3 separate regions of the Homo sapiens genome follow, and all the other regions are linked to region 2. Evidence: promoter capture Hi-C in human tissues and cell types (Jung and others, 2019). All regions are on one chromosome and are shown on one strand. The core of a region is centred on a gene start or on the middle of the fragment in contact, and the rest is flanking DNA. Distances in the headings are between cores, read along the strand shown. Region 1 overlaps CPEB1 (cytoplasmic polyadenylation element binding protein 1). Region 2 holds the start of AP3B2 (adaptor related protein complex 3 subunit beta 2). Region 3 overlaps CPEB1 (cytoplasmic polyadenylation element binding protein 1).

What was found. Contacts are between HindIII fragments. The study calls those that stand out against the background at their distance.
Region 1: a contact is called between a fragment that was not itself captured here and the fragment with the promoter of AP3B2 in region 2, in 5 of the 25 tissues and cell types used here (dorsolateral prefrontal cortex, mesenchymal stem cells, psoas muscle and 2 more).
Region 3: a contact is called between a fragment that was not itself captured here and the fragment with the promoter of AP3B2 in region 2, in 3 of the 25 tissues and cell types used here (hippocampus, mesenchymal stem cells and small bowel).

The regions. Positions count from the first base shown.
Region 1 is chr15:82,593,718-82,596,884 of GRCh38, reverse strand. All of the region lies in intron 3 of CPEB1 (cytoplasmic polyadenylation element binding protein 1), which reads left to right. Among named protein-coding and RNA genes, the nearest start is that of CPEB1, 52 kb to the left of the region's middle. The HindIII fragment of the contact is 4,275 bases long and covers 1-3,167 here.
Region 2 is chr15:82,707,938-82,711,630 of GRCh38, reverse strand. AP3B2 (adaptor related protein complex 3 subunit beta 2) reads left to right here and starts at 1,756. Exons shown (of 27, transcript NM_001278512.2): 1 at 1,756-2,037. The coding sequence starts at 1,925. It also overlaps the pseudogene LOC338963. RefSeq lists silencers at 1,703-1,752, 1,973-2,232. The HindIII fragment of the contact is 10,798 bases long and covers 1-3,693 here.
Region 3 is chr15:82,612,670-82,615,985 of GRCh38, reverse strand. All of the region lies in intron 3 of CPEB1 (cytoplasmic polyadenylation element binding protein 1), which reads left to right. Among named protein-coding and RNA genes, the nearest start is that of CPEB1, 33 kb to the left of the region's middle. The HindIII fragment of the contact is 3,936 bases long and covers 1-3,316 here.

The sequences.
Region 1 (3,167 bases), core at 638-3,137, 110 kb after region 2:
TCATGAGTATTTTTGCTTGTTGCTAGATTGTCTTCCATATTAATGACTTAAATATGTCAAGAGGATGTATCAAAACTACTTAACAGTTCATATCCTCTTCTTGCCATGTAAACAAAACTACATGCTTCTTGGGTATCTTCTTGCTATAAATAATACTGTAATGAACTTTTTTTTTTTTTTTTTTTTTGAGACAGAGTCTCCCTCTGTTGCCCAGGTTGGAGTGCAGTGGCATAATCTCTGCTCACTGTAACCTCTGCCTCCGGGGTTCAAGTGATTCTCATGCCTCAGCCTCCCGAGTAGCTGGGATTACAGGTGTGAGCCACCATGCCCAGCTAATTTTTTGTATTTTAGTAGAGACGGGGTTTTGCCATGTTGGAGTTTCAACTCCTGGCCTCAAGTGATCTGCCTGCCTCAGTCTCCCAAAGTGCTGGGATTACATGTGTGAGCTGCAGCGCCTGTCCTGTAATGAACATTTTAATGAACTTTTTAGTACATATGTTTTCCAAATTGGGCTTTTTTTTCTCAGATGGAAAGCTTATTAATACTTGCATTTGCAAGTTAAATCTTCTCATGTCAGAAGTTTATTTGCAAGTGAATTCGGTCAGAATATTATGCCATCAAGAGAATAAATCAGTTCAAGTTTCACCACATGCTTGTCTTAACTGCTTTATTTTTCGTGAGCTTTAGTAAAAATTAGACCTAATTGTGTTTTGAATCCTTTAGGAATAGCATTGTGATTCTGTGATTGTTAGGATTGTGATTATGTCTCAAGTTGCTTTTAGGCTAGGATTGCTTTCTTCATCTGCCCTCTGCTATAAATTTTTTGAGAAAAGTAGGTCATGTGTTCTATGGAATTATCTGCAGTACAGATTTTACTGACTGCATTCCCATGGCAGTACTTCACATGTCCCTCGGCCCCCTCTAGTTTCTGTTAATTGGTGATTATAGCTAGAGACTTGAGCAGACTTAGGTTTGACTTTCTTAGCAAGAATACTTAGTAGGTGATACTGAGTACTTCTTTTCTAGTGATATCATCAGGCATTGATGGTCACTACCTAGATACATTAGAGGTTGCCAAATAGCAGTTTTCTAATTCTCTGTTTTTCGTTTATTAGTTGATATGCTTTTTAAAAAATAAACTTAATTTCATGAACTATTTGGTAAACCAGAAGAGAACGTTTCTTCAAATAATCAAGCACAATTAAATGCTTATTTTACTTTACTTTCTTTCATAATATTGAGCTGATTGTCTAGCATTCTCCAAAGTTGACCAGTAAGTTGTTTTTTAGTATCATTGTGAACTCATAGATTTAATGTGTTTGATGTGTCTTGATCCATTGCAGTTACCCTTTTTTGTTTAGATGGTCCAATCTTTGAACAGTGGAGCCTCTTTACACCTGGTAGGATGCCTGTAGCAAAAAGGCAGTAACAATTGTTGATCAGGATGTAGAAAAAGTGAAACTCTTATACATTGCTAATGTGAAATGTTGCAGCTGTTTTGGAAAACAATTTGGCGGTTACTCAAGGTTAATCACCATGTGACCCAGAAATTCACTCCTTAAGAGAAATGAAAACGAATGTTCATACAAAAACTTATAGGTGGGCATTTGTAACAGTGTCGTTCATAATATCCCAAATGTGGAAACAATCCAAATGTCTATTAACTGGTGATGAATGGATGAACAGAATGTAGTACAGGCATACCTCATATTATTGTGCTTTATTTTATCACACCTCACAGATACAGCGTTTTATACAAATTGAAGGTTTGTGGTAATCCTGTGTTGAACAAGTCTGTTGGTGCCATTTTTCAAAAAGTATGTGCTTACTTCATGTTTCTGTGCCACATTCTGGTAATTCTTCCAATATTTCCAACTTATTTTACTGTTGCTTTGCTGCTATTGTAATTGTTTTGGCATGCCACAAACCATTCCCATGTAAGATGGTGAACTTAATTGATAAACTTTGTGTATGCTGTGACTGCTCCACCAGTCGGCCGTTCTCCTGTCTCTCTCCCACTTTCTTGGGCCTCCCTCTTTCCTGACACACAACAAAATTGAAATTAGGAAAATTAATAACCCTACAATGGCCTCTAAGTGTTCAAGTGAAGGGAAGAGTCACATGTGTCTCAGTTTACATCAAAAACTAGAAATGATGAAGCTTAGTGAGGAAGACATGTCGAAAGCTGTGGTAGGCCGAAAGTTAGGCCTCTTGTTCCAAATAGTCAAGCTGTGAATGCAAGGCACAAGTTCCTGCAGTAAACTAAAAGGGCTACTCAGGTAAGCACATGAATGATAAGAAAGCAAGACAGGCTTTTTGCTGATATGGGAAAGTTTGAGTAGTCGAGATAGAAGATCAGATCAGCCACAACATTCCCTTATGCCAAAACTTAATCCAGAGGAAGGCCCTAACACTCTTCTGAGAAGGCTGAGAGAGGTGAGGAAGCTGCACAAGAAAATTTGGAAGCTAGCAGAGGTTGGTTCATGAGGTTTTTCTTTTTCTTTTCTTTTCTTTTCTTTTTTTTTGGTTCATGAGGTTTAAGGGAAGAAGCTGTCTCCGTAACATAAATGTGCAAGATGAAGCAGCAAGTGCTGATGGAGAAGCTGCAGCAAGTTACCCAGAAGATCTAGCTAAGATCATTGGTAAGATGGCTACACTCAACAACAGATTCTCAATGTAGATGAAAACAGCCTTCTCTTGGAAGAAGATGCCATCTAGGACTTTCCTAGCTAGAGAGGAAAAGTCAGTTTCTGGCTTCAAAGCTTTGAAGAACAGGCTGATTCTCTTGTTACAGGCTAATGAAACTGGTAACTTTAAAGTTGAGGCCAGTGCTTACCGACCATTCTGAAGATTCTAGGGCCCTTAAGAAACATGCTAAATCTACTCTGCCTGTGCTCTATAAATGGAACAATAAAGTCATGACAGCACATCTGTTTGCACTATGGCTAACTGAATGTTTAAAGCCCACTGTTGAGACTTACTGTACAGACAAGAAGGGATTCCTTTCATAATATTACTGCTCATTAACAATGCACTTGGTCACTCGAGCTTTGATGGAGATGTACAAGGAGATTAATGATTTCATGCCTGCTGACACAAGATCAGTTTTGCAGCCTATGGATCAAGGAGTAATTTTTACTTTCAAGTCTTATTATTTAAGAAATACA
Region 2 (3,693 bases), core at 507-3,006:
TGCCCAGCCAAGCCACGCCCCACCAGTGAGCTGGCTACTCGGGGATAAAGACTGAAGTCCCAGGCTGGGGGTACGTTTCTCTGAAAATGGGGTTTGGGCACTCAGGGTCCCTGAGGTCTCAGGAAATGGGGGTGCGGGATCACAGGGCATAGGACCTAAGCCTGGCTCTGATCCGCACCCCTCTGGCGATCCCCGCAGGCAAGAACTCAGGAGGCTGTGGGCTCCTGGGAAGTTTCTGGGCTCCTGGAAAGGCATCGTATCCAAACAGGGGCAGCGCCCGCTGCTGCGCTCCTGCTGGCGCGTGCTGCGCAGAGTGAGCGAAGCGACGGACGCGGACCCACCATCCTATCACTCCATGCGCAGCAACTGTGTGCACTTTGCACTGTGTCTGCTCGTCCCAGGTCCCAGCCTGGACCCCCGGCAAATAGACGGGAGCTCCAGCAGGTCGGTGAGCGTGGCCCAGCTACCTGCACAGGACCCATCCCACCTCCTGAGCAGACTAGCCAAAGCGCCTTATAAACGCGCAACTGCAAAATCCAGGCCCTTCTCTTCCCACTCCCCACCCAGGCCAGTTTTCTCCAAATTCAAGATCCACTTTTCTCTGGCAGGCACAAAGCCACCGGAACCAAGCGGACCCACCCACTTGTCTAGGTTATCCCAACAGAACCTTCTCATTACCCCAATAGAACCTTACCCCAGTAGAATTACCCCCAATAGAACTTTTCTACTGAGCCAAGCTCCACCTTTCTGGGCCCCACTCCTTCCCAGGTAGGCCCGCCAATTCTGCCCATGGAGACTTCGGGATGCTAGTTACAGACCAAGACTCAGGCCTTAGGAACTCCTCCAGTCCCCATGCCCAGCTAAAAGACTCCAGCCACCTCAACTGATGCCCAACTGGATCCTACCTCTTCCCCCAGCCCAATTCACTACTTTCCATCGGATCCAAGCCTTCCTTCCTTGGGCCTAGGGGTCACTCGGGCTCGGGAGCTGAACTGGAGGGCTCACATGACTCAGGAGCCCTGGTGGTCACACCAGACCCTTCTCTTCCTTTTCAGGTGTCAATGGACGTGGACGTGTCCCCGGATTAAGCATGACCTTGGCCCTCCTGGGTGGACGTGGAGGCTTCAGAAAGATTCATTAAACTACTTTCCAAAGCTTAATTAGATGTTCACCGTCCTCTGTATCCTGTTTCCCATCTCTCTAAGCCCCCAAGGGCTCCTCGGAGCTCCCTGACCTTAATTCCTTAAATTCCGCCACCTCCAGGAAGCTCCTCGGCTTCCTGCTGCCAAGCCAGATTTTGTAGGAAAGGTGGGGCGGGAAAGGGAGCGTCCTTAGGTATCTGAGGCCGGTCCTCGGGTGCGGTGACCCCTTCCCGCTCTAGAACCCCCAGCCTGCGGGCACAGCCTTCTTTCCAGTTCCCGCTTTCCCTCCACGGCGTGGGTGAGCATCCGCGCGTGCGTCTGGGGAGAGCGGAGCCCCAGAGGCCCGTCCCGCCGAGGCCAGGTGGTCGGGGGTGGGGGCAGCTATTCCACATCCCCTGCAAGACGGTCCCAGCGTCCGTCCAGCAGACTCGCCCACCTTTAGATCTGGAGACGAGCCAAGTCGCTTTAAAGGGCAGAAGACGCCCTGAAGAGGGCATTTCCTAGGGATGGGCGGGGCCAGGCCCTGACGCACCGCCCCTGTCGCCTCCTCGCGGACACGCCCTCCGCTCGGCTGGCGCCGGTGCCTTTAAGACCTCAGCGCGCGGCCCTGATTGAGAAATCCGCGCGCAGCCTCCGCCGCTGCACACTGCAGCCTCTGCTGAACCCCTGCCGCGCCGCCGCCTTCGCCAGCCCGGACCGGACCGGCCCGCCTTCCCTTCCTCCGCTCCAGCCGGCCTCCGGCCCCGCAACCTCCTCCTCGGCGAAGTCTCCCTGGCCGCCCCATGTCGGCCGCCCCCGCCTACAGCGAAGACAAGGGCGGCTCCGCTGGCCCCGGGGAGCCCGAGTACGGCCACGACCCCGCGAGCGGCGGCATCTTCTCCTCCGACTACAAGCGGTGAGGGAGCCCGCCAGGAAGCTCGCGGGAGGGTTGGGGCCGGGGACCGGGCGAGGCGCGCGGGCACCATGGACAGCGCCCGGCCCCAGCGCCGGCCCCGCCCCGGCCGCGCCGACCGGAAGCCCGCCCGGCCCCCTCCTGCGGCCTGGAGCCCCGGCCCAGCGCGGGCAGCGCTGGCACCCCGGCTCCAGGGGCCGGCCTAGGACGCGGAGGGGGGCAGATAGGGGCTGGCGGGGGATGGGCCAGCTCAGTTTCGAGAGGAGAAACCCTCCGGTTCCAGGTGTTTCTCCGGTTTGCGGCGTTGCGTTAGGGGTTCCCTTCCTTTTTCGTGCTAGGCGGGTTGGCTTCCCAAAAATGTGGGGGAGGGGTCTGAGTCAGCGAACTTGAGCTTGAGCCTGGGGCCTCTTCAGGAAGGCGGGCCCTGGATGTACTTGCACAGCCTCCCAGCTTGGCCCTGCTGCAAATTCATTTCCCCTCCCTCTGGTCCCCATCTCCATCTGACCCTCACATCCCTGCTCCTGGCATTGCCCCTGTAGTTCAGCTCCACCTTCACACCCTCCCCCACCTTTGATTCGTTCGTTTGTTTCTTCATTTGTTTATTCGTAAATTCTGCAACAAGCATTTATGAAAAGCCAACTGTGTCGAGTCCTGAACTAGTCACGGAATACAACTGTGAACATGAGACCCTTCTTGTCCTCACGATGCTCTAGAGGGGAGCACAGATGAAGAAGCAGTCAGGGACAGTCGAGTGTAATGGGGGCAGTGGGAGCAGGGAGAGGACCTAGTCTCTGGCGCCGGAGAGAAGGAAGACAGGAGCGTGAGGTATGTTCCAGGCAGAGGAAAGGGCTTTCAGGAAGGTTGAGAGCCAGGCCACAATCTGTGTGAGCCACTGGACTGACCAGAAAAGAGGGTGGGGAGGACTCCTGAAGGATTCTAAGCAGGCGACATAATCAGATTTATATTTTAGAAGGACGTCAGGCTGCTGCATTGTGGAGAAGAGATTGGAGGTGGGCCAGATTGAACAAGAGACAAGGGAGGTGGGTCTTGAAGTTCACAGGCCTGGCATGATTGTGGCCTAGACCAGGGGAGAGGCAGAAGATTTGAGGCTGTGGAAGAGGTGGAAGCCTCAGACCTGATGATTAATTGGATATTGGGTGGGGGTTTAGAGGGACAGGGGGAGAAGATGAGGATTTTCACGCACGTCCATGTGAAGAGACCACCAAACAGGCTTTGAACAATAAAGCTTTTTAATCACTTGGGTGCAGGCCAGCTGAGTCCGAAAAAAGAGTCAGCGAAGGGAAATGGGGTGGGACCGTTTTACAGGATTTGGGTAGGTAGTGGAAAATTACAGTCAAAGGGGGTTGTTCTCTGGCGGTGGGGGGACACAAGGTGCTCAGTGGGGGAGCTTTTGAGCCAGGATGAGCCAGGAGAAGGAATTTCACAAGATAATGTCATCAGTTAAGGCAGGCACAGGCCATTTTCACTCTTCAGTTACTTCAGGCCATCTGGATGTATACGTGCAGGTCACAGGGGATATCATGGCTTAGCTTGGGCTCAGAGGCCTGACATTCCTGTCTTCTTTTATTAATAAGAAAAATAACATAAAATAGTGTTGAAGTGTTGGGGCAGCAAACATTTTGGCGGGGGGTGGTATGG
Region 3 (3,316 bases), core at 152-2,651, 95 kb after region 2:
TACAATATTCCTCTTGGTAAATGTTTAGGTGTATATTTTTTGCTGTATTTAGGTAAATATATATTTTTTGCTATTATAAACAGTATTTTGGTGAACATCCTTGTTTAAGTCTCCTGTGCCCACATCACAAGAGCTTCCTTGAGTATGTACCTAGAAGTTAATTGCAGAGTTTGGTATATTGTCTTCACACTTCAAGTTGCTGGGTACTTTTTCAAAGTGCATTTACCAGTTTATAATCCTGCTAGGATTTCATGAGTTTTCAGTCACATTCCATGTAGACTCTAGATGTTGTCATACTTCAAAATTCCAGTTGATATAGCTGTAAATCCAACTTGATTTTGTTTTCTTTATATTATAAAATATTTTCTGAAGTTAAAATAATACGTGTAGCATATATGATCTGGCATCAACCCAGAGTAAGTTTCTAGAATTGTGTCCCAGGGTTCTTTCCCTTTATGCCATTCTGTCTGCTGTTTCTTGACATTCCATGCATATTATATAATTAAAATCACTGACAGATGAAGTTGTGCAATGAATGCTCTTCTGCTACATAGTTGACAACTAAATTGACTGTCTTCCTAGAAAAAATTATTTTATTCAAAGTTGGCTTGGTTGTCACTTCAGAAACTTTATAACACTGTCCTGCCTCCAATGTTCTGTAGTCTGTCAATCTGTGAGATGAAGCAAGGTCCTTCTTGGCTCTTCGTGTTTATTTGTGGATCCATCATGTGGTGGTGTAAACATATACATTCTTAAAATGGGAGGATAGGGTACAGTTTTGAAAAAACATTGTCCGTTTCATAATAAACCCAAACAAAGATAGGGTACAGGCTCTGAATGCAGATGACCTGAGAACAAATTCTGGTCGTGCTACTTACTTGCTGTGACCTTGGCTTACACTCTGAGTTTAAATTTCCTCTTTAGACACATAGGTAGAAATAGTACCCATTTGTAGGGGTTTTGTGAAGCTTAAATAAGATTTGTATTGAATACTATCTACAATGATGCACATAACTGCACTTACTAAATGGTGATAGTGATTGTGATAGTGTGGGTATATAAAGATGCAGTTGTGAGAGCGTTGGCTGAGGTCATATATATATATACACACACACACACACACACACACACACACACTTATATTTTAAAGAGTTGAACTAGGTTTTCTGTTTATACTGTAAGTCTCTTGAAGAATGTGTAAGGACTAGGTCTTAAATATCCTTGGGTTTCGTTTCGTTTCTTTCTTTCTTTTTTTTAAAGATCTTTTGAAATCCTTGGATTTCTAATCCTCAGTATTGGGCCTGGTGCATGTTAGGTAACATTATACAATTGCTTAATGAATACATTCTCTCAAACTGGGTGCCTAAGCTGAAAAAGGCCCTCATTTTGTGTTCAAATTGTACTCCCCCCCACATTTGGTACTGATAATATCTAGGAATTTACTTGCAGTTTTGTGTGTATGTATGTGTTCACAATCAGTATTTATTTAGACTTCAGTAATTTTTAGTGATTACTTAGATTATCATTGTGTTTTGTTTAATTCTTGGACTAGTTTGATGGACTTTTCCAAATTGTTAAACATAGAATATATGGAAACTTGCATAAAACACCTGTATATTTTAATCAGTTATACAGCAGACACCCACATAACCACTACCCAGGTCAAGAAATAGAATATTACAGCTGGGTGCAGTGGCTCGTGCCTGTAATCCCAGCACTTTGGGAGGTTAAGGTGAGAGGGTCACTTGAGCCCAGGAGTTCGAGGCTTCAGTGAGCTGTGATAATGCTGCTGCACTCCAGCCTGGGAGCAAGACCCATATTTTTATGTGGTTAGGAGTGACGAAGAGGACGCTGGGAGCCTCCCGAGGAGGCCAGTCCCTTTCCAGCAGCCCCTGGGGCCGTCCCAGGGTAGGGAGTCTTAGAGCCCCAGGGTCCCACCCAGGGTGTGTGTCTCTCTCCCGGTGGGCTTCCCCAGGCATCAGCAAGGCCACTGCTTGGCGGAGGCTTGCCGGCAGGGACTCAGAAGCAGCGAGGCTGAAGAGGATCCTGGGAGCCTCCCAAGGAGGCCAGTCCCTTCCTGGCAGCCTCCCGGGCTGTCCCAGGGGGGCATTGAGGGGGGAGCGGGGCGGGGTGGTAGAGTTCCAGGCTCCCATCCAGGGTGAGTGTCTCTCTCCCCGGGGGGAGCTTGTTTCCAGTCTTAGGGGAGGGGTTGTGAGTGAACTTCTTAGCATTTCTCCTTTAAATATGCTGAAGTTGTGAATGTTTTTTATCTGATTAAGAAAGTTCTTTTCAGACTTTGCCAAGAGGCTTTTAAAAAAAGAAAATCTGCAGGATGCAGTGGCTCATGTCTATAATCCCAGCACTTGGGGAGGTTGAGGTGGTTAGAGACCAGCCTGGGCAATGTAGTGAAACCCCATCTGTACAAAAGTATGAAAAGCCGGGTGTGGTGGCACGTACCTGTAGTCCCAGTTACTTGGGGCTGAGGTGGGAGGATCGCTTGAGCTCAGGAGGTGGAGATTGCAGTGAGCCAAGATCGTGCCGCTGCACTCCAGCCTGGGTGACACAGCCAGACACTGTCTCCAAAAAAACAAAACAAAACAAAAAAACCCCCAAGAAAACAAACATAAAATCATGAATGTTATTAAATTATATCAGCTTTTCTGCATCTATTCATTTAACCTTTCTCCTTTATTCTATAGATGTAGGAATAACATTCAGGAAAGAATACCAAAGTAAAGCCAACTTCGCATTCCTGGAATTAACTCAAGTTGTTCATAATATATTTTATTTAGTATATTGTTTGGATTTCATTTGTAAATGTTGTCTTCAGGATTTTTGTATTCATGCACATAAGAGATAAGCTTGTAATTTTCTTTCCTTAAAATATCCCTGGTGTCAGAGTCGTTAGCTTCTTGAAGCAAATCATTAGCTTCTTGAAAAGTTTTTTTTTTTCCTCGCTGTTCTTGAGAAGAGCTTGTGTGAAATTTATAATAGTCTTCCTTAAATTTTGATATAATTCATTGCTGAAGCCACTTGGGCCTGGAGTGTGTTTTTGTTTGTTTTTGTTTTTTTGAGGAACAGTTTTTAAAATGTGGATTCAGTTTTTTGTTTGTTTGTTTTGTTTGTTTGTTTGTTTGTTTGTTCTTTTTTTTGAGACAGAGTCTCACTATGTTGCCCAGGCTGGAGTGCAGTGGTGCAGTCTTGGCTTACTGCAACCTCCGCCCCCCAGGTTCAAGCGATTCTCCTGCCTCAGCCTCCTGAGTAGCTGGGATTACAGGCGCCTGCCACCTGCCCAGCTAATTTTTGTATTTTTAAT